Linked DNA regions of Homo sapiens: regions 2, 3 and 4 are each linked to region 1. The links are contacts of gene promoters, found by promoter capture Hi-C in blood cells and fetal thymus (Javierre and others, 2016). All regions are on one chromosome and are shown on one strand. Each heading gives the region's core, a stretch centred on a gene start or on the middle of the fragment in contact. The rest is flanking DNA. Distances are from core to core; before and after follow the strand shown.

Evidence for each region. Contacts are between HindIII fragments. The CHiCAGO score rates a contact against its expected background, and 5 or more counts as called.
Region 2: a fragment that was not itself captured here is called in contact with the fragment with the promoter of MRPL19 in region 1 in 6 of 17 cell types (total B cells, monocytes, fetal thymus and 3 more); the score reaches 12.3 in total B cells.
Region 3: a fragment that was not itself captured here is called in contact with the fragment with the promoter of MRPL19 in region 1 in 1 of 17 cell types (M0 macrophages); the score reaches 6.2 in M0 macrophages.
Region 4: the fragment with the promoter of EGR4 here is called in contact with the fragment with the promoter of MRPL19 in region 1 in 4 of 17 cell types (naive CD8 T cells, activated CD4 T cells, total CD8 T cells and 1 more); the score reaches 8.4 in naive CD8 T cells.

What each region holds. Positions count from the first base shown.
Region 1 is chr2:75,645,419-75,648,129 of GRCh38, reverse strand. MRPL19 (mitochondrial ribosomal protein L19) reads right to left here and starts at 1,347. Exons shown (of 6, transcript NM_014763.4): 1 at 1,220-1,347; 2 at 911-1,028. The coding sequence starts at 1,322. RefSeq lists enhancers at 1,118-1,417, 1,253-1,547. The HindIII fragment of the contact is 2,636 bases long and covers 1-1,535 here.
Region 2 is chr2:73,233,961-73,236,671 of GRCh38, reverse strand. CCT7 (chaperonin containing TCP1 subunit 7) reads right to left here and starts at 2,364. Exons shown (of 12, transcript NM_006429.4): 1 at 2,288-2,364. The coding sequence starts at 2,293. RefSeq lists enhancers at 2,477-2,546, 2,667-2,711, 2,358-2,711. The HindIII fragment of the contact is 1,854 bases long and covers 450-2,303 here.
Region 3 is chr2:73,272,083-73,274,793 of GRCh38, reverse strand. All of the region lies in intron 1 of FBXO41 (F-box protein 41), which reads left to right. Among named protein-coding and RNA genes, the nearest start is that of FBXO41, 11 kb to the left of the region's middle. The HindIII fragment of the contact is 1,834 bases long and covers 416-2,249 here.
Region 4 is chr2:73,292,168-73,294,878 of GRCh38, reverse strand. EGR4 (early growth response 4) reads left to right here and starts at 1,331. Exons shown (of 2, transcript NM_001965.4): 1 at 1,331-1,697; 2 at 2,098-2,711. The coding sequence starts at 1,562. RefSeq lists a silencer at 969-1,048. The HindIII fragment of the contact is 1,844 bases long and covers 1-1,815 here.

The DNA of each region.
Region 1 (2,711 bases), core at 98-2,597:
GAATCTCTTAGTTCTCTAACTCCAAGTTTACTTCTATTTAAATCCGTGGAATATTTTAAATGTTAAAAAAAGAAAAGAAAAAAAAAAGCCAGGCGTGGTACCAGTAGTTCCAGCTACTCTGGAGCCTGAGGCGGGAGGATCACTTGAGCCCAGAAATTTGAGGCTGCAGTGAGCTAAAATCACCACTGCACTCCAGCCTGGGAGACTGAGAGAGACTCTGTCTAAAAAAAATTTAAAAAATAAAAAAATTAAAAATCCCAGAAGTAATCCAATCAATAATCTACAGCCCTTTCAAAAAGCCTATAATCATATCAGGTTTTTCCTCTGAAAACTGGCTTTTTAAAAAGGTTGCTACATAGCTCTCTTTTCAGACCTTAAGTCCTTTAAATTTACATGTACCTCCAAGATTACCACCATTCATATAAGTTTTTATTCACACTATTTTGATGAGTAAGTTTCAGACACAATTTAGTGGCCAGTTTTACTGTGCTTTGTCTGCCAAAACTTCCAACCTAAACCATAGCAAATTTTTTAAGTTGGCCAATCGATTCCTATCCAGGGTTAAGGGTCTTTTGAGAGAAAAGAAGAGCTCTTGGACGTAAACAGGTATAAACAGGATATACCTCAGAGAAAAACTCTGGTACAGGACAAATACCACAGAGAAAAGAGTTTAAAATATGGGGAACCCCTACTTGAAGTTCTGACTCAATAAAACTGCAAAGAAGTTCAATGCTGGCTTGGGGAGAAGTGAGAAAGAAAGAACAGTGTGGTGCGCTGGCTCTTGAATCCTACACACCTGCTCGTGCAGGGGGAGGTGCAGCCCCCACCTTAGAGCCGGGACCTCGAACGCGAACGCGCTCACGCGCGCACCGACCCCAGTTGCCGGCCTAGCGCCAGGGCAGTGCCTCACCTGCGTTCCGGTTCCACGGGGCGGTGCTTGTCCACGATGACCGGTTTCGGCGGCGGTTGGAACGCACCGGGCTCGGAAGGCCCAGTGCTCTGCTGCCGGACAGGCCCCGCGTGGACCCCTGCGGGAGCGGACGACGGAGGTCAGAACTCTCGTGCCAACCCTGAGATCCCGCAGAGCCCCGCAATCTCCCCCAACCCGGCGTCCCACGGGGGACCAACGCTGGGGTTGCCTCTGATCTCCAGGTTCGCCTCCCCCATCCTGACCCTGGGCCCCTAACGCGCCCCAGCTCGCAAGTCCGGCTCCACTTACTGCAGGCGATAGAGGCCGGCGGGGGGAGCAGAGTCCTGGCGGCTTGGAAACTCCGGCCTAGGCCCATTGCAGCCCAGTGCCCCGCTGCAATGCAGGCCGCCATGCCAGCTAGCTCACGTCAAGACTACAGCTCCCAGTAATCAGTGCGACGAGGTTGTTGCTGTCTGCCACCATATGGCGGCTGCTATGGGACAAAATGGATAAGTCTCTCCTCGCTCCTTTCCTGATGTCTTAGGAAAAGTGCACGTTTCTCTAGTTCCTCGTAATGCGCCAAGTTACACCCCTCCACAGGGGTGTTCTCCCAGCCTAGAAAGCTTTTTCCTCCCCCTATGAATCCACTCTATCTTCTCAGACAAGCTTTCGCTATGCGAAAATCCCATTGTAGGCCGTCTTTCCCACTGGGTGCCTTCGATTGGCAGCTCTGATCTCATTTGCAATTCTTTCTTGTGTAATTATTAGATTAGTATTTAAATCTGCCATTATACTATAATGAGGCAAGGGAAGGGATAAAGTCTTCTTTTTGCTCACCATGTTATCCCAGCACCTAGCACCTACCTGGGCCCTCACTAACATCTTTTGTTTTGTTGAGACAAGGTCTTCCTCTGTTACCCAGGCTGGAGTGCAGTGGCGCGATCATGGCTCTGCAGCCTCCAACTCCTGATGTCAGGAGATCCTCTCACCTCAGCCTCCCGAGTAGCCAAGACTACAGTCTCGCACCATCACGCCCAGCTAATTTTTCTAATTCTTTGCTGAATGCACAGAAAAGAGAATAGAATAGTTCCTGACAGAACTGCTGGCCCATAGTCCTTGAGACTACACAAAGCATTAACCCTTTGAGGAACCCAAATGAATTTGGGCTGGGCAACTGTGGGTATGGATAGGTGGGAGAAGTAAAGCTGGAAAAGGTAAATTGTAAGTCTTGTTAAGAAATTTGGAAAATGACTGGGCGTGGCCAGGCATGCCTGTAATCCCAGCACTGTGGGAGGCCGAGACAGGAGGGTCCCTTGAGCTCATGAGTTGGAAACCAGCCTGGGCAATATAGTGAGACCGTATCTCTAAGAAACAAACACACAGCCGGGCGCAGTGGCTCACGCCTTTAACCCCAGCATTTTGGGAGGCCGAGGCGGGCAGATCGCCTGAGGTCAGGAGTTTGAGACTAGCCTGGCCAACATAGTGAAACCCCGTTTCTACCAAAAATAAAAAAAATGATCCAGGTGTGGTGGCAGGCTCCTGTAATCCCAGCTACTTGGGAGGCTAAGGCAGGAGAATCGCTTGAACCTGGGAGACAGAGGTTGCAGTGAGCCGAGATCGCGCCATTGCAACAAGAGCGAAACTCCGTCTCAAAAAAACAGAAAAAGAAACACACACAAAAAAAGAAATTTGGAATTTGTTATTTCAGCAGTGGTTATATAAGGATTGAACACTTAGAGTAATGTGATAATTTAACTACATAATAGTCATTCCAGTTGCATTAATGTCCCAAAGCTACCTC
Region 2 (2,711 bases), core at 127-2,626, 2.4 Mb after region 1:
CTTTTTTTTATTCCTCTAATAAATAAGAAACAAGGTCGGGTGCGGTGGCTCACGCCTGTAATCCCAGCACTTTGGGAGTCCAAGGTGGGTGAATCACAAGGTCAGGTGTTCGAGACCAGCCTGGTCAACACGGTGAAACCCCGTCTCTACTAAAAATACAAAAATTAGCCAGGCGTGGTGGCGTATGCCTGTAATCCCAGCTACTTGGGAGGCTGAGGCAGGAGAATTGCTTGAACCTGGGAATGGAGGTTGCAGTGAGCCAAGATGGTGCCACTGCACTCCAGCCTGGGCAACAGAGCAAGACTCCATCTCGGGAAAAAAAAAAAAGAAAAAGAAACAAGAGCAGACTCCAGTAATTGGCCACAGGTATAATGGAAGGTTTTGGAATTTCAGCTTACTGATCTTCCTCTTCATCCTACTTTAAAACTTTCACTAAGCATCATTAAGCTTAATGGCTTACAAAACAAGTGTGTCTATGCCAAGGCACACAGCGCTCAACGCCACAAAGGCAAGGACATACATTTTATGCAAGCTGTACCAACATCACAGGACTGAGGTTTCAGGGGACCTTTTCACCTCTCTTTCGATTACAGAAGTATTCTAGAATATCAGGGGCCAATTTGAAGACAGGAAGACTCTTGGAGATAGAAGTTTCACATTCCAAAAATGGGGAGGAGATATCAAGAGCCAATACAGCAGGGAAACGTCAATCTGACAGAGGAGGGGTCAGTTCAGGGAAAATCCAAGTGTGATGATCTAGAGCCCACTGGTGAAGTTTTATCACGGCAGAGAATGGCGGTTCTGATCCCTAGCTGTGTGAATGTGAACCAAAGCTCTTACGGAAGCCCTGGCAGCGGGATGGACTGATTTCAGAGATGAAAGGAAGCAAACAACCACCTCGCCGAGTAAGAGCTAACATTGCTGAGTGCTTACTATCTGCTAGGCACACTGACAAACTGAGAACCAGAAATTAAATAACATGCTCAAAGTCACACAGCTAGTAAGTGGCAGAGCTAAGTTACAAACCTAGGCATTCAGTGTAGCTCCAGAGGCCTTACTCTCAACTGCTGTACTATGCTGCCTCTGCACAGAAGATGAAGACGACTTCAAGAATGAGCAATGCTAGAGACATAAAGGGGAGAGGAAGTACTGTTAAATGCTAATTTCCTTCTACCTTGGGTACAAGCGGGATTCATAGGGCATTTGGTAGAACACCTAAAAGGTGTCTGCGTCCCTAACAGGACAGAGAAAAGCTGCAGGAAGCAGGAAAAGAGCAGAAGATAGAGTCGGACAGGCCAAAATGAATAAGTGAACTGCCAAGTGCACAGAAAGCAGTATCTCAGTCAGGGTCAAACACCACCTCGGAAGCTGGCCCTACTCAATAACAACCCAGGAGATACCATCGAGGCTTGGGACCCACGGAAAGTATCTAAAGCTCCGAGAGACAGAGAAAAGAAGTGTGGGAAGTAGGGCTACAAGGAGCACTTTAGGTGGCTCCAGGACTCACAGCAACTCCCTCGCCCCAAATTTCAAGAAAACGAGACCCAGAGTTAGGTAGCCAACTAGAAAAGCCTTTCTTATGTCACCAGAGTCCGAGCCTGGGTCTTCCCACCTCCGATACAGTGTCTCCATCTACCTTTCCCGTTCTCCTGGCTGAGAGGCTGCAACCCCCAGCAACCACCAGGGCCTGGTACATTCAGTAGGCACTAAAGACGCGTTTATTTAATGACTGAGCGAATGAGTGAATGAATTAAAAGTACTAGGGAAGGCGTCTGCTTCTCTGCACGCTGCGGTGAGGGTCAGCGAGTGAACATAGTGAGTCCCTAGGCGGGCACAATATGAGGTCCCCAATGTGCCTGTGCCGGTTCCAAGAAGCACACGTCTTTACAGCCCGCAAATCTCAGAGCAGCCCCAGCTTCCAAGTCTAGCTGCCGACCGCGTAACCACGGCCGACCTGCACTCGTTTCACGCAAGTCCCGATCATGCGGGGCTAAAAAAGAGGTCCCCGACGTGGGTTCGCGGGCCCGAAGCACCCTGGGACTTGTAGTCCCCAACCGGCCAGCCCAGAGACTCCTCTAAAGCCCCACGCAGCCCTCGCCAACGGCTCCAGCGCCGTGCTCGGGCCGAGCCAGGCCGCGGCTGGCTGGGGTCGCCCCTAAGCTGGGGATCTGGGCGAGGACAGAGGCGGCAAGCAAAAGAGGGTCCTACAGAGCAAGCCCAGGCCGAGCGGCGCCGGCCACCGGCCAGATGGCAGCTGATGGCGACGGATGCGCGAGACGCCACTCACCATCATTTTGGAAGCTTATTCAGCGGCCCGCCACTCTCCCCTCTTCTCCGAGACCGGGCCGCCCAGCAACCCACAATGCCTCGCGCAATAGAAATACCCAGAAGCTTGGGCCGGGAGAGGAAGAGAACGGACCACTTCCGCTACTCTATGGTTCGTTACCACCGACTCGGTGCGGCTAGAAGGACCTGAGGCTGGGCTTCGGGGACTCTCTAGTGAGGGGCGTTCATTAAAGAGGGGTCGCCGCATTTCGGTCGTGCTTCTTAGAGCACGGAGGGTCTTTGCTCGGCCCGCATCACCTACTAACTTAATTCCACCCTCCTCCATCCCCGGACGCCAGACCAAGGAATGCAATAAAGGCAAAAGTGTGGGACGCAAAGTGTGGGATAGGCTGGTGCCAAAGCACTTTACGTGAGCGATCTCATTT
Region 3 (2,711 bases), core at 83-2,582, 2.4 Mb after region 1:
AGCACTTTCTGACCGGCCTGGGCAACATAGTGAGACCCTGTTTCTAAAAACAAACAAACAAAAAAAAATCCAAAAGGAAAAAGGAAATCATACAGCCTAAAGTATTTAATACTACCAAGTCATTGTCAGTCTATGGTATTAGGGCTATTTGTTTAAAGCCCTTAATTCTAAAAAATATTCTGGAATTTTAAAAAAAGGAAATCACAAGTATCGAAAGAAAACATATGTAACTGTTTATAATCTCTGGGTAGGGAGAGATTTCCTAAGCATAATAACAAAATCCGATTTTACGGCGGCATAATTTAAAACTCTAGTATATCAATAAAGACCATAAACAAAAGTAAAAGCCAATCAACACACTTGAGAAAAATATTTGAGGTATATAAATGACACAGGATCAATAATATTAAAAGCTTTTGTAAATCGATAAGAAAATATGAATGTTCAGTATGAAAATGAGCAAAGTAGTGCACAGGCAAGTTACCAAAGAGATAGAAATGGCCAGTGTATGTGTGAAAAACTGTCCAGCCATCACAATCAAGGACATGCAAGTGAAACAGCCAGGCCACTTTCCAGTTTCAAATTGGCAAGAGCACAGGGGCCAGATCGTGAAGCTGAGGAGTTTGGCTGCAGTTGGTAGTGGATGGGGGTGCCCTTGAAGGAGTCTGAGCAGAGGAATCCGATGCCTTTACAGATGGAATGGAGCTGCGGGACTGAAGGCTGGGCCAGCAGTCTAGATGTGATGAGGTTGTGGCCTGGAAGAGTACAAAGCATGAGAAAAGAACAGTTGGGTTGAAAGCACTTGGAAGGAAAAACCAGTAGGTCTTGATGGTTAGCAGAGAGAAAAATCAAGATGGCCAGTGCTGTGGCTGGGAGGACAGTAACACCAAAGGAAACAGGGGTGCTGGGTAGTAGGTGAGGAGAAGTCTGGGATTTGTTTTTGACACTGTGGGCCATTGTGTTAGTCTGGAGTCTCATTACTAGAGACTGGCAACCGACCCAAATGATAAAAGCTACAAAAACATTTGCAGCCCTTCTCAATGGTCAAGTCCTGGGTTAGAGCTTCAGGCACATCTGGATGTGGATGCTCAAATATCATCAGGGGTCCTTTACTTTTGTCTCAAAGACAGGGCAAAAATGGCCACAAGAGGCTCCAGGCTCACAGCCTACCAACTGAGCACAGCTCCCGAAGTGACTGTATCGGCCCAGACTGAGAAATGAGTCCATTACTGACCTGACCACTGTGATTCTAATGGAACAGACTGAGGTCATGTGTGTTCCCTGGGAGCCAATGGAAGCTGTCAGCCCTACCCAAATCTATTCAAAGTGCAGGCAATGGTTCTCAAAGGGAAAATTGGGGATCAATTCACAATAAAGAGGGACTAGAGCCGGGCAGCAAAAACAATAAAAGTCCACTGTATTTCACTTCTTAGATGTCAAAGATCGACACAGACCCCCTTTACTGTGTAATTTTAAAAAATATTTTCCTGTTTATCATAATGCAACTATCCCTCACCAAACTTAAAGCACAGTTATCCCACTTCTGGGAGGAGACATTCCAAGTTTTCACCCAGTTACCACATCTATCCCCAATTCAACATCTTGGCAATGGCAAGGGGCTGTTTGTTTGGTTAGGTACTAAGGTCATGGTCTTTCCATTTAAGGCCCAACTACAATGATGGAGAGAAAACTGTATAGCTGGAAGAAGAAAAACCCTCCTAGTTGAAGAGGGGGGTGAGGAAAAAAACCTGGACCGTGGTCCACATGCTTGACTGAATGGTGAGGAAGAGGTTTCCTGGTACACCAATCTCACTGCTCTGATTTTGCTGTCTCTGTGAGAGGGGCATTGAAGGGTGCATGTTTGGGGAGGTTCAGGGCAACCATAGGGGCTGAGCAATCCTTTGGTTTGTGGGGGCTTTCTGGCAATACAATCCCCTTAATCCCTGGGAGGCTTTTCAGTCAGTTTGCATTTGGTTATCCCCAGAGCTATTAACCAAAGCTAGAGACCTCTATGAAAGTTATGGTTCTTGAATGAAGTCCCTGGTGGTGGTGTAGAAGGAGGGAGGGGTTATCTCTTAGCAACAGGCCTCAGTGTTCTGCCCATCCCAGGAGCCCTTGGTTCTGCAGCCTCTAACTGGGCCTCTGCCACAGGGCAAAGCAAACTCCAACTTTGGGGAGGGAGGCAAAAGGTCATCTGCCCCTTCTCACTGAAGCTGCATCCCAATGGAAGGCTGCTTATAATGGAAGCTTCTGTCCAGCTGGGAGGGCACAGCAGGAAGGGTTCAGCAGGGCCCAAGGAGTTGAGTACCTGTCAGGCCCCAGGCTTATCTCCCTCTTAGTTCCCAGCCTCTTTGTCTTCGCTTGAGCTGACTTTAGCTTGAAGCAAAGAACTGGCTCTTAATTATCTGACTCTCAGCCATATTGAATTACTGGCTGCAGGCAGAAAGGGCCTCTCTGGGCAAGCCCAAATTTTCTTCCTCTCTGCTTTCAGATGGGCTCCTTTCAACCAGAGTGTGTCTCTTGCTTGTTGGACCTTACTGAGGCCGTTGGAAAGACACTCCCAACATCCTGACATTTTTCTACAAATCCCCTAATGTTCCAGCCATGGTAGGTACATGGCCTGAGCTCCAGGGATGGTGGGAGACAGTTTAATCATCTGCTTTGCTGCTGCTCTGTTCACCAACCTGTGAGTGGGGAATGGGGGAAGTAGT
Region 4 (2,711 bases), core at 82-2,581, 2.4 Mb after region 1:
GCAGCCAAGATTCACAGCCTCCTTAAGGCTAGGATTTTTTTTTTTTTTCTCAAAAGAAGCCCAATTATTTCAAGTACTGATTCCAGGGAGATATTTCCCACGGATTCCCTGTGTGTTGCTGGGATCAACATCCTTAGAGCGAAAGCCATTTGTATGAAGGCAGAAAAAATGTTCTGCAGAAGCATCTCATACCCTGTGGGTGAGGGAGGAGTGAGCAGGAATTGGCCCTACTTTTCTGGAAGACAATTTGCCAGTTGTCTATCAAAATTTTACATATACTTTGGCACACAATTACACTCGTTGGAATTTATCTCACAGACACATTCACATTTATATAGTCAAGGATGTTGACTCCAACAACATTGGTATAAGTAAAAAGTTGGAAACTGCCTACATGCTCATGGATAGGGGACAAATCGACTAACTCAAGGTCCTCCCTTACAATGGAGTACTATACAGCCTTGAAAAAGAATGACAAGATCTTTATGTCAGGACATGGCACAATCTCTAAGTTATTTCAAGTGAAAAAATAATAATAATAATAATATTGCAGAACAATGTGTATGGTTGGATATACATAAAATTCTTCTGAAAGAATACCCAAGAAACTTAAATGTGGCTACCTCAGGAGCTAGGAATGAAGGTAGGTGGAGAGGAGGGACTTTTACTTTTCAATTTAGAATATACCCTGTTGTGCTAGTTGACTTTCCTCCTACTGTTAACAAGTATTACAGTCCTTTTTAATTTAAATTATTTTTCCTAGCACAAATTTAAAAAAAAAAAACTTAAAATGGAAAAACACACAGGCGTGAGCAAAAGAAATGAATGGCAATAATCTCTGTGGTTTACTGAGTGCGCCTGGACATTTATGTGCTCTCAGTTTCTCTCCACAGGAAATGCACAGGTGAGAAACTGACGTTAAGGGGGACTGAGTGTCAAGCTAGTTAGTGGCAGAGGGCAGATTCAAACCCAACACGGTCCTCCCCTGCTGCCCCTCGGCCTCTGCCTCCAGGTGGGAAGCGCATCTACCGGACGGTCGGCCCGGTGAGGCGCAGCGCCCCAGACTGGCGCATCCGCGGCCCCAGCGCTCCACGCCTGGGGAGCGCGCGCGCACGCAGCGGCGCGAGCCTGGCGGCGGCGGCGACAACAACAACGTCACAGCTCGAGCTTTCCTTTTCGGGAGTCCCCGGCACACATCCTGTGTCCATGTTTGGGCATTTACGTCACGGCGGCAGGGCCGGGGCCTCCCAAAATGGCAGTGGCCCGGGGAGTCGGAAGCCCGGAGCCAGCGCCGCCGCAGCTATATAAGTGGGGGGGCTGTGGGCTGGGGGAGCCCGGCAGCGCTTTGGAGAGGCGAGGAGCCGCCGCCCGAGGCCGGTGCGGGCGAGCGAGGGCGCCGCGGCTCCCCGACTCCTTTCCCAGAGGTGAGTGCCCGAAGCCAGGAGCCCGGGCGCCTAGGTCTGTGCGCTGCGGGGAACCCCTACCGCCAGCCTCCCCGCCACCCGCGCGCCCCCAAGCCCAGCGGGCGAGGCCCCGGGCGCCCCACAGCCGGCGCCGCGCCATGCTCCACCTTAGCGAGTTTTCCGAACCCGACGCGCTCCTCGTCAAGTCCACTGAAGGCTGTTGCGCCGAACCCAGCGCTGAATTGCCCCGGCTGCCTGCCAGGGACGCTCCCGCGGCCACCGGCTACCCTGGAGGTAAGGAGGGCGAGCAGGGGTGCTCAGACGACGACGGCGCAGCGCGGGGGCGCACCATACCTGAGAACCAGGAGGGACTGGGACATTGGAGCTATGAGAATAGGGGCGATGGGAAGCTTAGGAGTCCTGGGGTGCGCACCCCCATTCCCACCCACACTGGGCCGCCAGCGCCTCCGCAGGAACCTGTGCGGTTATCGGAGCGCCCTTTTGCCTGTGCACGTGTGTTTTGCGTGTGCATGTTTCTATGTGCTCCTTGGGACGTATGCGGGCCCCTGCTGAATCAGAATGTGCAAAAGGCACTTTGTGTATATCCGTGGGCACCAAGAGTTTTGTAGGTAGGGGCTGTGGACTCAGGTGCACCCTTTGATGTGCCCAGAGCTGATTCCTGCTCCCTCCTCAGCAGGCGACTTCTTGAGCTGGGCTTTGAACAGCTGCGGCGCAAGTGGGGACTTAGCCGACTCCTGCTTCCTGGAGGGGCCTGCGCCCACACCCCCTCCCGGCCTCAGCTACAGCGGTAGCTTCTTCATTCAGGCAGTGCCCGAACACCCGCACGACCCGGAGGCACTCTTCAACCTCATGTCGGGCATCTTAGGCCTGGCACCCTTCCCCGGTCCAGAGGCAGCAGCGTCCAGATCCCCGCTGGATGCCCCTTTTCCTGCGGGGTCCGATGCCTTGCTGCCGGGTCCGCCGGACCTTTACTCCCCGGATCTGGGCGCTGCCCCTTTCCCAGAGGCGTTCTGGGAGGCCTCGCCTTGCGCGGGTGCCCCCTCGCAGTGCCTGTATGAGCCTCAGCTCTCCCCGCCCGACGTCAAGCCCGGCCTCCGGGCGCCTCCCGCCTCGCCAGCGCTGGACGCTGTCTCTGCCTTCAAGGGTCCCTACGCGCCCTGGGAGCTGCTTTCTGTGGGGGCCCCAGGGAACTGTGGGTCACAGGGAGACTACCAGGCCGCCCCGGAGGCTCGTTTTCCCGTAATAGGGACCAAGATTGAGGACTTGCTGTCCATCAGCTGCCCTGCG